Regions from separate parts of the Homo sapiens genome. Here all the other regions are linked to region 3. The links are contacts of gene promoters, found by promoter capture Hi-C in blood cells and fetal thymus (Javierre and others, 2016). All regions are on one chromosome and are shown on one strand. The core of a region is centred on a gene start or on the middle of the fragment in contact, and the rest is flanking DNA. Distances in the headings are between cores, read along the strand shown. Region 1 overlaps VSIG10L (V-set and immunoglobulin domain containing 10 like). Region 2 overlaps ETFB (electron transfer flavoprotein subunit beta). Region 3 holds the start of SIGLEC14 (sialic acid binding Ig like lectin 14).

What was found. The method cuts DNA at HindIII sites, captures the fragments that hold promoters and counts their contacts. A CHiCAGO score of 5 or more calls a contact.
Region 1: a contact is called between a fragment that was not itself captured here and the fragment with the promoter of SIGLEC14 in region 3, in 12 of 17 cell types (naive B cells, megakaryocytes, activated CD4 T cells and 9 more). The highest score is 15.4, in naive B cells.
Region 2: a contact is called between a fragment that was not itself captured here and the fragment with the promoter of SIGLEC14 in region 3, in 6 of 17 cell types (total B cells, megakaryocytes, naive B cells and 3 more). The highest score is 12.1, in total B cells.

Annotation. Positions count from the first base shown.
Region 1 is chr19:51,331,859-51,334,618 of GRCh38, forward strand. It overlaps VSIG10L (V-set and immunoglobulin domain containing 10 like), which reads right to left. Exons shown (of 10, transcript NM_001163922.3): 8 at 2,333-2,446; 9 at 1,933-2,087; 10 at 1-782. The coding sequence ends at 753. Among named protein-coding and RNA genes, the nearest start is that of VSIG10L-AS1, 6.8 kb to the right of the region's middle. The HindIII fragment of the contact is 3,891 bases long and covers 1-2,760 here.
Region 2 is chr19:51,351,320-51,354,260 of GRCh38, forward strand. It overlaps ETFB (electron transfer flavoprotein subunit beta), which reads right to left. Exons shown (of 6, transcript NM_001985.3): 2 at 2,831-2,941; 3 at 1,813-1,971. Among named protein-coding and RNA genes, the nearest start is that of VSIG10L, 11 kb to the left of the region's middle. The HindIII fragment of the contact is 4,167 bases long and covers 1-2,941 here.
Region 3 is chr19:51,645,275-51,648,074 of GRCh38, forward strand. It overlaps SIGLEC14 (sialic acid binding Ig like lectin 14), which reads right to left and starts at 1,551. Exons shown (of 7, transcript NM_001098612.3): 1 at 1,449-1,551; 2 at 983-1,366; 3 at 508-786; 4 at 203-256. The coding sequence starts at 1,485. The HindIII fragment of the contact is 8,795 bases long and covers 1-2,800 here.

The DNA.
Region 1 (2,760 bases), core at 91-2,590, 310 kb before region 3:
ATTCTGGGACTTAACCCAAGACTAAGGGAGGGGTAAGGGAACGGTCGTCTAAGATGGTAACTGCTACTCTTAGACTTGAGAAATGAATGACATATGGGAAAAAGAAGTGTTATAAGCACAGCAAACTCTAGGGGCAAAATAAATTGTGGCTGAGAGACAGACTGTGATACTGGAGTCCGGGGGCAGAGAAAGAATTGGGAGGGGAGGTCAGGGAGGCCAACAGAGGCCAGACCACAAGGTTTTGAAGGTCACGACGATGAGTTTGGATAATATCTGAAGGGAAATGCACAGGCCGTAGAAGCGTTTAAAGAGAAGAGTGACATGATCTGATCTGTTTTAAGATGAAGATGCTGGGAGCTGGATGGGGTGTGGCCTACAGGTGGCAAAGTGAATGTAAGGGGACCTTTTCAGAGAACATGGCCAAGCTCCCTCTCTAGCTCAGAGCAACACAGCAAGCCCTGCCTGTCTGCTGCAGAGGCTTGGAGGTTGTGCAAACCACACAGTTAGATCAGCAAGAGTTTCCCAGCCAAGAAGTCACATCTCCTTACTTGCACAAATACAGGAAGACTCTTCTTCTGCAGCAAGAGAGGGAGACAGAAAGTCCCACTTTCAGGGTCCAACCCTCAGTCATAGCAGGCCCTGGCTGCTGCTGGAGTGAAATAGGAAGTTCTGGCCCAAAACGCCCTGTGCAGGGCAGACCACTGGCTCTGATCACACCTGTGTGGCTGCGCGAACAGTCTTTGAGCCTCCGCCTACAGAGACAACTGAACTGGGGTCTGTGCCTGGAAGAGAGAGGTGGGGTGAGGGGAGAACTCAGTAGGTACTCTGGATGTGACATAACTCACCCGCCTAACTTTTTCTAGCTCTTGCTTGAACTTTTTAGAGATTATCTGGGAACCCTCCATTTGGAGAGGGGAAAAAAAATGCCTGGCTATCCTTGGTGGAGCGAAGCCAGCCAACAACCCAACCCAGTTGTTATTTTTTATTTATTTATTTATTTATTTATTTTGAGACAGGGTCTCACTCTGTCATCCAGGCTAGAGTACAGTGGCACCGTTAGAGCTCACTGCAGCCTTGACCTCCCAGGCCCAAGCAATCCTCCCACCTCAGCCTCCCTAGTAGCTGGGACTACAGGTACGTGCCACCATGCCCGACTAATTTTAAAATTTTTTGTAGAGATGGGGTATCCCTATGTTGCCCAAGCTGGTATCGAACTCCTGAGCTCAAGTGATTCTCTCTCCTCAACCACCCGAAGTGCTGGGATTACAGGCATGAACTATCACACCCAGTCACAACAATCCTTCTTTTATGGGGAATGAGGTAACTGTACCCCACTTCATAGAGAAAAATGGGCCTTGCCCAATTTTTATGGGAAAGAAAAATGGAGGGGCTGGGCGTAGTGGCTCATGCCTGTAATCCCAGCACTTTGGGAGGCCAAGGTGGGCGGATCACTTGAGGTTAGGAGTTCGGGACCAGCCTGCCTAACATGGTGAAATCCCGTCTGTACTAAAAATACAAAAATCAGTCAGGCGTTGTGGTGCTTGCCTGTAATCCCAGCTACTCAAGTGGCTGAGGCAGGAAAATCGCTTGAACCCAGGAGGCGGAGGCTGCAGTGAGTCGAGATTGCACCACTGCAGTCCAACCTGGGCAACAAAGTGAGACTCTGTCTCCAAAAAAAAAAAAAAGAGAGAGAGAGATCCTATTTCCCTCCTTTGGAGAAGAAACTGGAATTCACTCTTATTTTAATATACATCAAAGTTGGGCGGGAAGCTCTGTCCAACTTTGATGCATTTTTAAAAAGGATAAAGTTATACAGACTGTAAACTAACAAGTAAAACTGGAGTTAGATAATTGAGACCCTCTCATCTCCCTGACTGTAATACAAGAAGTTCCGCCCCGATTCCAGGAGGAAATGAGGGCACCCACACTCACTTGGTAGGCCCTAGTTGAGCTGTGGTCCTCCAGAGGGACTTTGAGGTCCAGAGGCCATGAAATCTCCACTGGGGTCACACTATGCATCTTCTTTTCTGAGGGGGTGACCACGGGGACCAAGGTAGAAGGATGCTTCTTTTTCTCAGGAGTCTTTCCTGATTGAGAGGCAGAAGAGAAGCAGGAACACGTGATTGGCTGCCCCAACATGCCAACCCAGCCAATAGCAAGGGAAGCTGGTTGGAGAGGCGGAGCCTTATGCTGATTGGCTGATTTGGAGGTAGGAGGGCAGGATGGATGACCTATGACGGCACTGATTGCCTCAGCCAGGTCTTCCATAGGCCTCTTTCTAGGGTCCCTCCCCGTTGGTCATGGTTGCCCCTTCCCCAGTCCCCTTGCTCACCACGAAAGCGGCACAGGCAGCAGATGCAAAGGAGGAGAAGTACGGCTAGCAGCGCCAGGCCCAGCAGGGAGCCCAGGACGATGCCAGCGATGGCCCCATGGCTCAACGTGGGGCCTGGAAGAGACAAAGAGAAGAAAGAGAAGGGGAACAGGAACCAAGGTTGGACCCAAGTTTCCTAAGCCCCCTAACTTTGTGCTGGGACCCAGGAGTCCGGCCCCCACTGTCCCTCCCCTCCCAGAACCCAGGAATGTGGGACCCCAGCACTCTCAACTCATTTAACAGTTACTGAGTGACCGTGGTGTGCCTGGCTCTCAGACAGGTAGTGAGGATTCATTCGTGGGCCAAACAGGAAAGATATCTACCCTTATGGGGCTTAATTCTAGGAGAGAAGACATAAATAAATGAGCAATACATAAGATAATCACAGA
Region 2 (2,941 bases), core at 442-2,941, 290 kb before region 3:
TGAAGACAAGGTAGAGGGGAGCCTACAGCTCATATGTGACCCTGGATCAAGCTGTGCCTGAAGCCCCTGATTTACGTGAGATAATAAATTCGCTTTCTGGCTTAAGCCAGTTTGAGTTGTGAATCTGCTTCCTAGAACAAACAGCATCCTGACCAGTTCATCCGGCATTTCCCCAGCTGGAGGCCCTGGCCCCAGGAACTGTCCCTGGCCCAGGACAGGTAGGACATCGGAGTCTGAGAACGACCAGCAAATGCAGGGGGCTGCAAAGGCCATGCTTCCAGCACCTCGGCCTCTGCAGCCCCACCCAGGCCCTGCCTTTTTGGCCTGTTCTCCGGGTAGGCCCTTCGGCCACAGTTGACTGATCTGTACTCTGATGCCCCTGCTGTTGATAATCTCTCTCTGTTTTCTTCTGACTTTCTCAGGGCTGGGCAGGACACCCAGTGACCTACCTGGACCCATCAGCCTCCTCTTTGTCCCAGAACTGACCTGGCCCTGGGATCCCCATCTCTCTCCGGGGGCCCCAGCTCTACCTGAGCCTGCTGTGCTCTGCTGTCTCCGTGCTCTGCTTGACATACCTTGCAGTCTTTGGCCTTCCTTCTCAGCCTCATCCCTAATTCCCTGCCTCTTCTCACTCCCATCTGCCTGTGGCTCTTCTGACGTCCCTCTTCTGCCCCTTCCCTGGTTGAGGCCATGAGGTTTGCCCTCAAATGAGATGAGCTACCCCTGAGCAGAGGTGGTGCCCGAGGGTCTCCTGGGGGAACAGATGAGCTCCATGTACCCCTATCTCAGTGGGGAGCACCAGTGTGGCAGGGAAGGTTCTGGTCGGGTCCTCACCCAGCCCTAACCTCCTTCCCTAACTCCTGGCCTCCAATTTCCCATTCCAGTCCATTCTCAAAGCCCAGGGGGGCTCTTTCTGCACCTAGTGCTGATCCCACCCCTCTTCTGCTCATAGAACTCCCATAGCTCCCCAGTGCCCTCCAAAATTCTCAAGTCTTTGTTTCAAGCCCAGGCCTGTCTCCTGAACCTGCATCGATGTCTCCTGGGCTCTTCACACTCCCCTTGTAGGATCCTCCTCTAACCTCCTGTTCTTCCTGGGTTTCCTACCTGTGTTACCAAGGCAGACCCAGGCACTGTCCTTGCCTCCTCCCTGCCCTCCCTCCCCATGCTAAGCCCAGTCTCTCCTGCCACATCATGTCTCTGCTCTGTCCTGTCACCTTTGGCTGAGGCCTCATTCTCCCCCATGTGACCATCACCTCGGCCTCCCAGCCTCTAAACTCACCCAAAAGGATCTTTCTTCTTTTTTTCTTTTTGAGACAGAGTCTCGCTCTGCTCCCAGGCAGGAGTGCAGTGGTGCCTGGAGTGCAGTGGTGCGATCTTGTATCACTGCAACCTCCGCCTCCCAGGTTCCAGTGATTCTCATGCCTCAGCCTCCCAAGTAGCTGGGATTACAGGCAGGTGATACCACACCCGGCTAATTTTTATATTTTTAGAAGAGATGGGGTTTCACCATGTTGGCCACGCTAATCTCAAACTCTCGACCTCAAGTGATCCACTGGCCTCGGCCTCCCAAAGTGCTGAGATTACAGGCGTAAACCACCGTGCCTGGCCCAAGAGGATCTTTCTAACACCCAGAGGGACTCTGTCCTCCCTGCTCAAACTCTCTGTCAGAAGGGTCAGCAAAGTCCCAAGCTGCTCAGCCTGGAGTGGTGAATGCCCTGGGCCTGGCCAGCTGCTGTCTCACCCCGTATCTCCACCACCCTCCTCCCGAGCAGGGATGAGCAAGGGGGCACAGGGAGGGCTGACCACAGCTACCTGTTTGCCCAGCAGCACCAGGTCCACCTTCTCCTTCTCTGCCAGCTTGGCCAGGACCCGAGCCACCTGCAGGGGACCCAAGCGTTCTGCTTCTGCTGGGGGCACCTCCACGTGGATACCTCGGTCTGCACCCATGGCCAGGGCGGTACGAATCGTCTCCTGCCAAGGACAGAGGGGCTTGACTTGGCTGCTATCCTCAGGGGGACCTAGGAGTCTGGCTCGCAGCCCCTCCTTCCTCAGACCCAGGAGTCCAGGGCCCCATCCCCTCCTTCCTCAGACCCAGGAGTCCAGGCCCCCATCCCCTCCTTCCTCAGACCCAGGAGTCCGGGCCCCCATCCCCTCCTTCCTCAGACCCAGGAGTCCGGGCCCCCATCCCCTCCTTCCTCAGACCCAGGAGTCCGGGCCCCCATCCCCTCCTTCCTCAGACCCAGGAGTCCGGGCCCCCATCCCCTCCTTCCTCAGACCCAGGAGTCCGGGCCCCCATCCCCTCCTTCCTCAGACCCAGGAGTCCGGGCCCCCATCCCCTCCTTCTTCAGACCCAGGAGTCCAGGCCCCCATCCCCTCCTTCCTCAGACCCAGGAATCCAGGCTATCAGCCCATCCTCCCTCAGACCCAGGGGTCCAGACTTCCAGCCTCCTCCTCCCTCAGACCCAGGAGTCCAGGTCCCAGCCCCTCCTTCCTCAGACCCAGGAGTCCAGGGCCCCATCCCCTCCTTCCTCAGACCCAGGAATCCAGGCCCCCATCCCCTTCTTCCTCAGACCCAGGAGTCCAGGGCCCCATCCCCTCCTTCCTCAGACCCAAGAGTCCAGGCCCCCAGCCCCTCCTTCCTCAGACCCAGGAGTCCAGGCCCCCATCCCCTTCTTCCTCAGACCCAGGAATCCAGGCTATCAGCCCATCCTCCCTCAGACCCAGGGGTCCAGACTTCCAGCCTCCTCCTCCCTCAGACCCAGGAGTCCAGGTCCCAGCCCCTCCTCCGTCAGACCCAGGAGTCCAGCCCCCTCCCCAAGACCTTCATCACCTGGCACTGTGCAGGCCCACAGCTGACGGCGATGACCTCCTTCACCAGCTTCTTCTCCTTGAGCCGCACAGCCTCCTCCACCGCGATCTCACAGAAGGGGTTCATGGAGTG
Region 3 (2,800 bases), core at 301-2,800:
GAGAGCAGAGAAAAGGGAGAAGCCAAAAGAAATACTAGGTCTGTTCGTGCAAGATCTTAGTGACTGGGATTGGGGGGTTGGGAGCAGGAAGGACCCAGACCCAGGGGCTGAGGGGTGAGGGAGGGTCTCCTCTCCCAATGCTGAACCCTGAGCTAATAGAAGGCTCCCATCACAGCCCCAGAGGGAAGAGGGTCTTTCCTACCTGTGCCTGTGCCATTTCTGAAGAAGATGCTGATGGCGAGGTTCTGTGGAGCATCTGGGATAGAAAGATACAGCACCAGCTTCAGAGGTGACAAGAGGGATGGGCGTGGTCCCGGGAGGGACCCAAGGAGGGGCCACAGAAACCCACCAGGTGGGGACCGCTGTCCTTCCTGCCCACACACGAGTTTTCCCTGGTTATCATTCTCTTTCTCTCTCTCTCTTCTACACACACACACACACACACACACACACCCCCCTCACTCCCACTGCCCTTGGGGACTCAGCTGTGTCCCCAGCACCACTCACAGGAGACATTGAGCTGGACAGTTCTCTCCGTGGTCACCTGAGCTCCTTGGCGTTTCACCTGACAGGTGAGGTTGGTGCCATGGTCCTCGGGCCTGGGGGTGAGGGTGAGCTCCGAGGAGCGGGTGGTCTCGGGGTCCAGGGGGCTGAGGGCATTCCCCGTCCAGGAGAATGTGAGAGGTGGTCCCGCTTCACAGGATCCTGGAAGGCTGCAGCTCAGCCTTGTGGGGCGGCCGGACTCCAGAGGCTCCAGAAAGTGGATGTCGGGTTTCTCTATCAGGGCTGAGGAGGAGACAGGGAGATACCTGGGCCCCAGGGGCTTGAGGACGTAAGGTGTGACCCCGAGAGTGGCCAGGCCTCAGGCCCCGACCTGCCCCAAGTCCTACACCTCCTCCAGCCGCCCCTGCCCAACTCCTGTCCCTGTTCTCATACGGGGGTCTCCACGTCCCAGGGTCCTCTCCTAGGGTTCCTGCCATACCTGTCACCTCCAAGTTCAGCTTATTCTGTTGGTAGCTATATTTTACATCCCTTCCTCTCTCCACGCGGAAGAAATAGCTTCCCGTGTCCTCCATTCTGGCATCTCCGATGCTCAGGGAGCAGTTCTTCTTCTGGACATCCCCAAGGAGGCGGAATCGGCCCTGGGTCTCTGGCTTCACTCTTCTGTCTGGGTTGTTTGTGGCCACAACCTCAGCGTAGTATGGGATCTCCCCGTCCCGGAACCAGTAGACGTAGAGTGGGGGAGAGGAATACCAGGATCTCCAGGGGTAAGAGAAGGAGCAGGGCACAAGGACGCACAGGCCCTCCTGCACCGTCACCGACTTCTGCACTTGCAGCTCGTACACTGGCTTCTCCTGCAGGGACCCTGGGGGGACACAGAAGCTCAGCTGCAGCTCCAGCCCCCCTTCTCACCCCTGTGCCTGTCCCTCCTCCCTCAGCTCACTCACCCCCCCACAGCAGGGGCAGCAGCAGCAGGGGCAGCATGTCTCCATCCGCCAGGGCCCCAGCCCAGTCCCAGGTCCGGCTGTCAGGGAAGGAAATGCTCCAAATGTCCAAACGTGGGGTGGGGCTGAGAAAGCCCCGACAGGAAGCCGGAGGGTGAGTGAGAGCTGTGGACGCGCACAGAAGGGGAACTTGGGCATCACGTGCTGTTGGGGTGAGGCTGGGGCTGGGAAGCCATTCTGCTCCCACCCCCACTGGACGCCGATGGTGAAGATACTGAGGCCCCCAGAGGGGCTTGTCCAGACTTGTAAGTCTAGACTCCTGAGGTCACCAGGTCCCATAGCTGCAGCACTTTCCTTATGCACCTTTGTCTACATAGGAAGGAGAACACCACTTGGCCAGCTCCCTGGGAGTCAGGGCCTCGGGACCCTCAGCGAGATGGGAGAATAAATCCTTTATGACATGATAGGAGCTGTGGTGAGGGAAGCACACGCTGGGGGTTTCAGGTGGGGAAGACTTTCCTCTTTCCAGAGGGAAGGCAAGTTGTCAGGGACAAACACATCAGGTGGACATGACCGGGTCCTTAGCAGTCAAGAGAGATGTGGTCCCCACCACCAGTTGGATTTGGGAACCTCATCTCATCCTTGTCCTTGTCCCAGGCAGCGTCAGACCCCATCCCTGATGTTGACAGCCAGATGAGGCTTGAGAGCCGGGCATTTGAAATGTGAACGTTGAGGATATGGAATACCAAGTGTGAACCCAGACCCCTCACCTACCGGCTGTTGAACTTTACAAAAGTTACCTACCCTCTCTGTGCCTCAGTTTGCTCAGCTGAAAAATGCAGACAATAATAGAATTGCTGTGTGGGGATTCAGTGAGGTCTCATGTGTAAAGTGCTTAGGACAGTGTCTGGCCCCGAGAATTCACTCATTCAACTGATGCTTCATGGGCGCCTATGGTGCACCAGGCCCCCTGTTTTAGGAGCTGGAGATACAGCAAAGGATAAACTCTTAGGATGAGAAGGTAAGTCAAAAATCCTAGTGGGGGCTCCTCTGGGCACACTGCTTATGCATACCCCTGCTCCACGAAGAACAGTAAAAAAAGAAGGCCGGGCGCAGTGGCTCACGCCTGTAATCCCAGCACTTTGGGAGACCGAGGCGGGTGGATCACGAGGTCAGGAGATCAAGACCGTCCTGGCTAACATGGTGAAACCCCGTCTCTACTAAAAATACAAAAAATTAGCCGGGCGTGGTGGCGGGCGCCTGTAGTCCCAGCTACTGGGGGGGCTGAGGCAGGAGGACGGCGTAACCCGGGAGGTGGAGCTTGCAGTGAGCCGAGATCGCACCACTGCACTCCA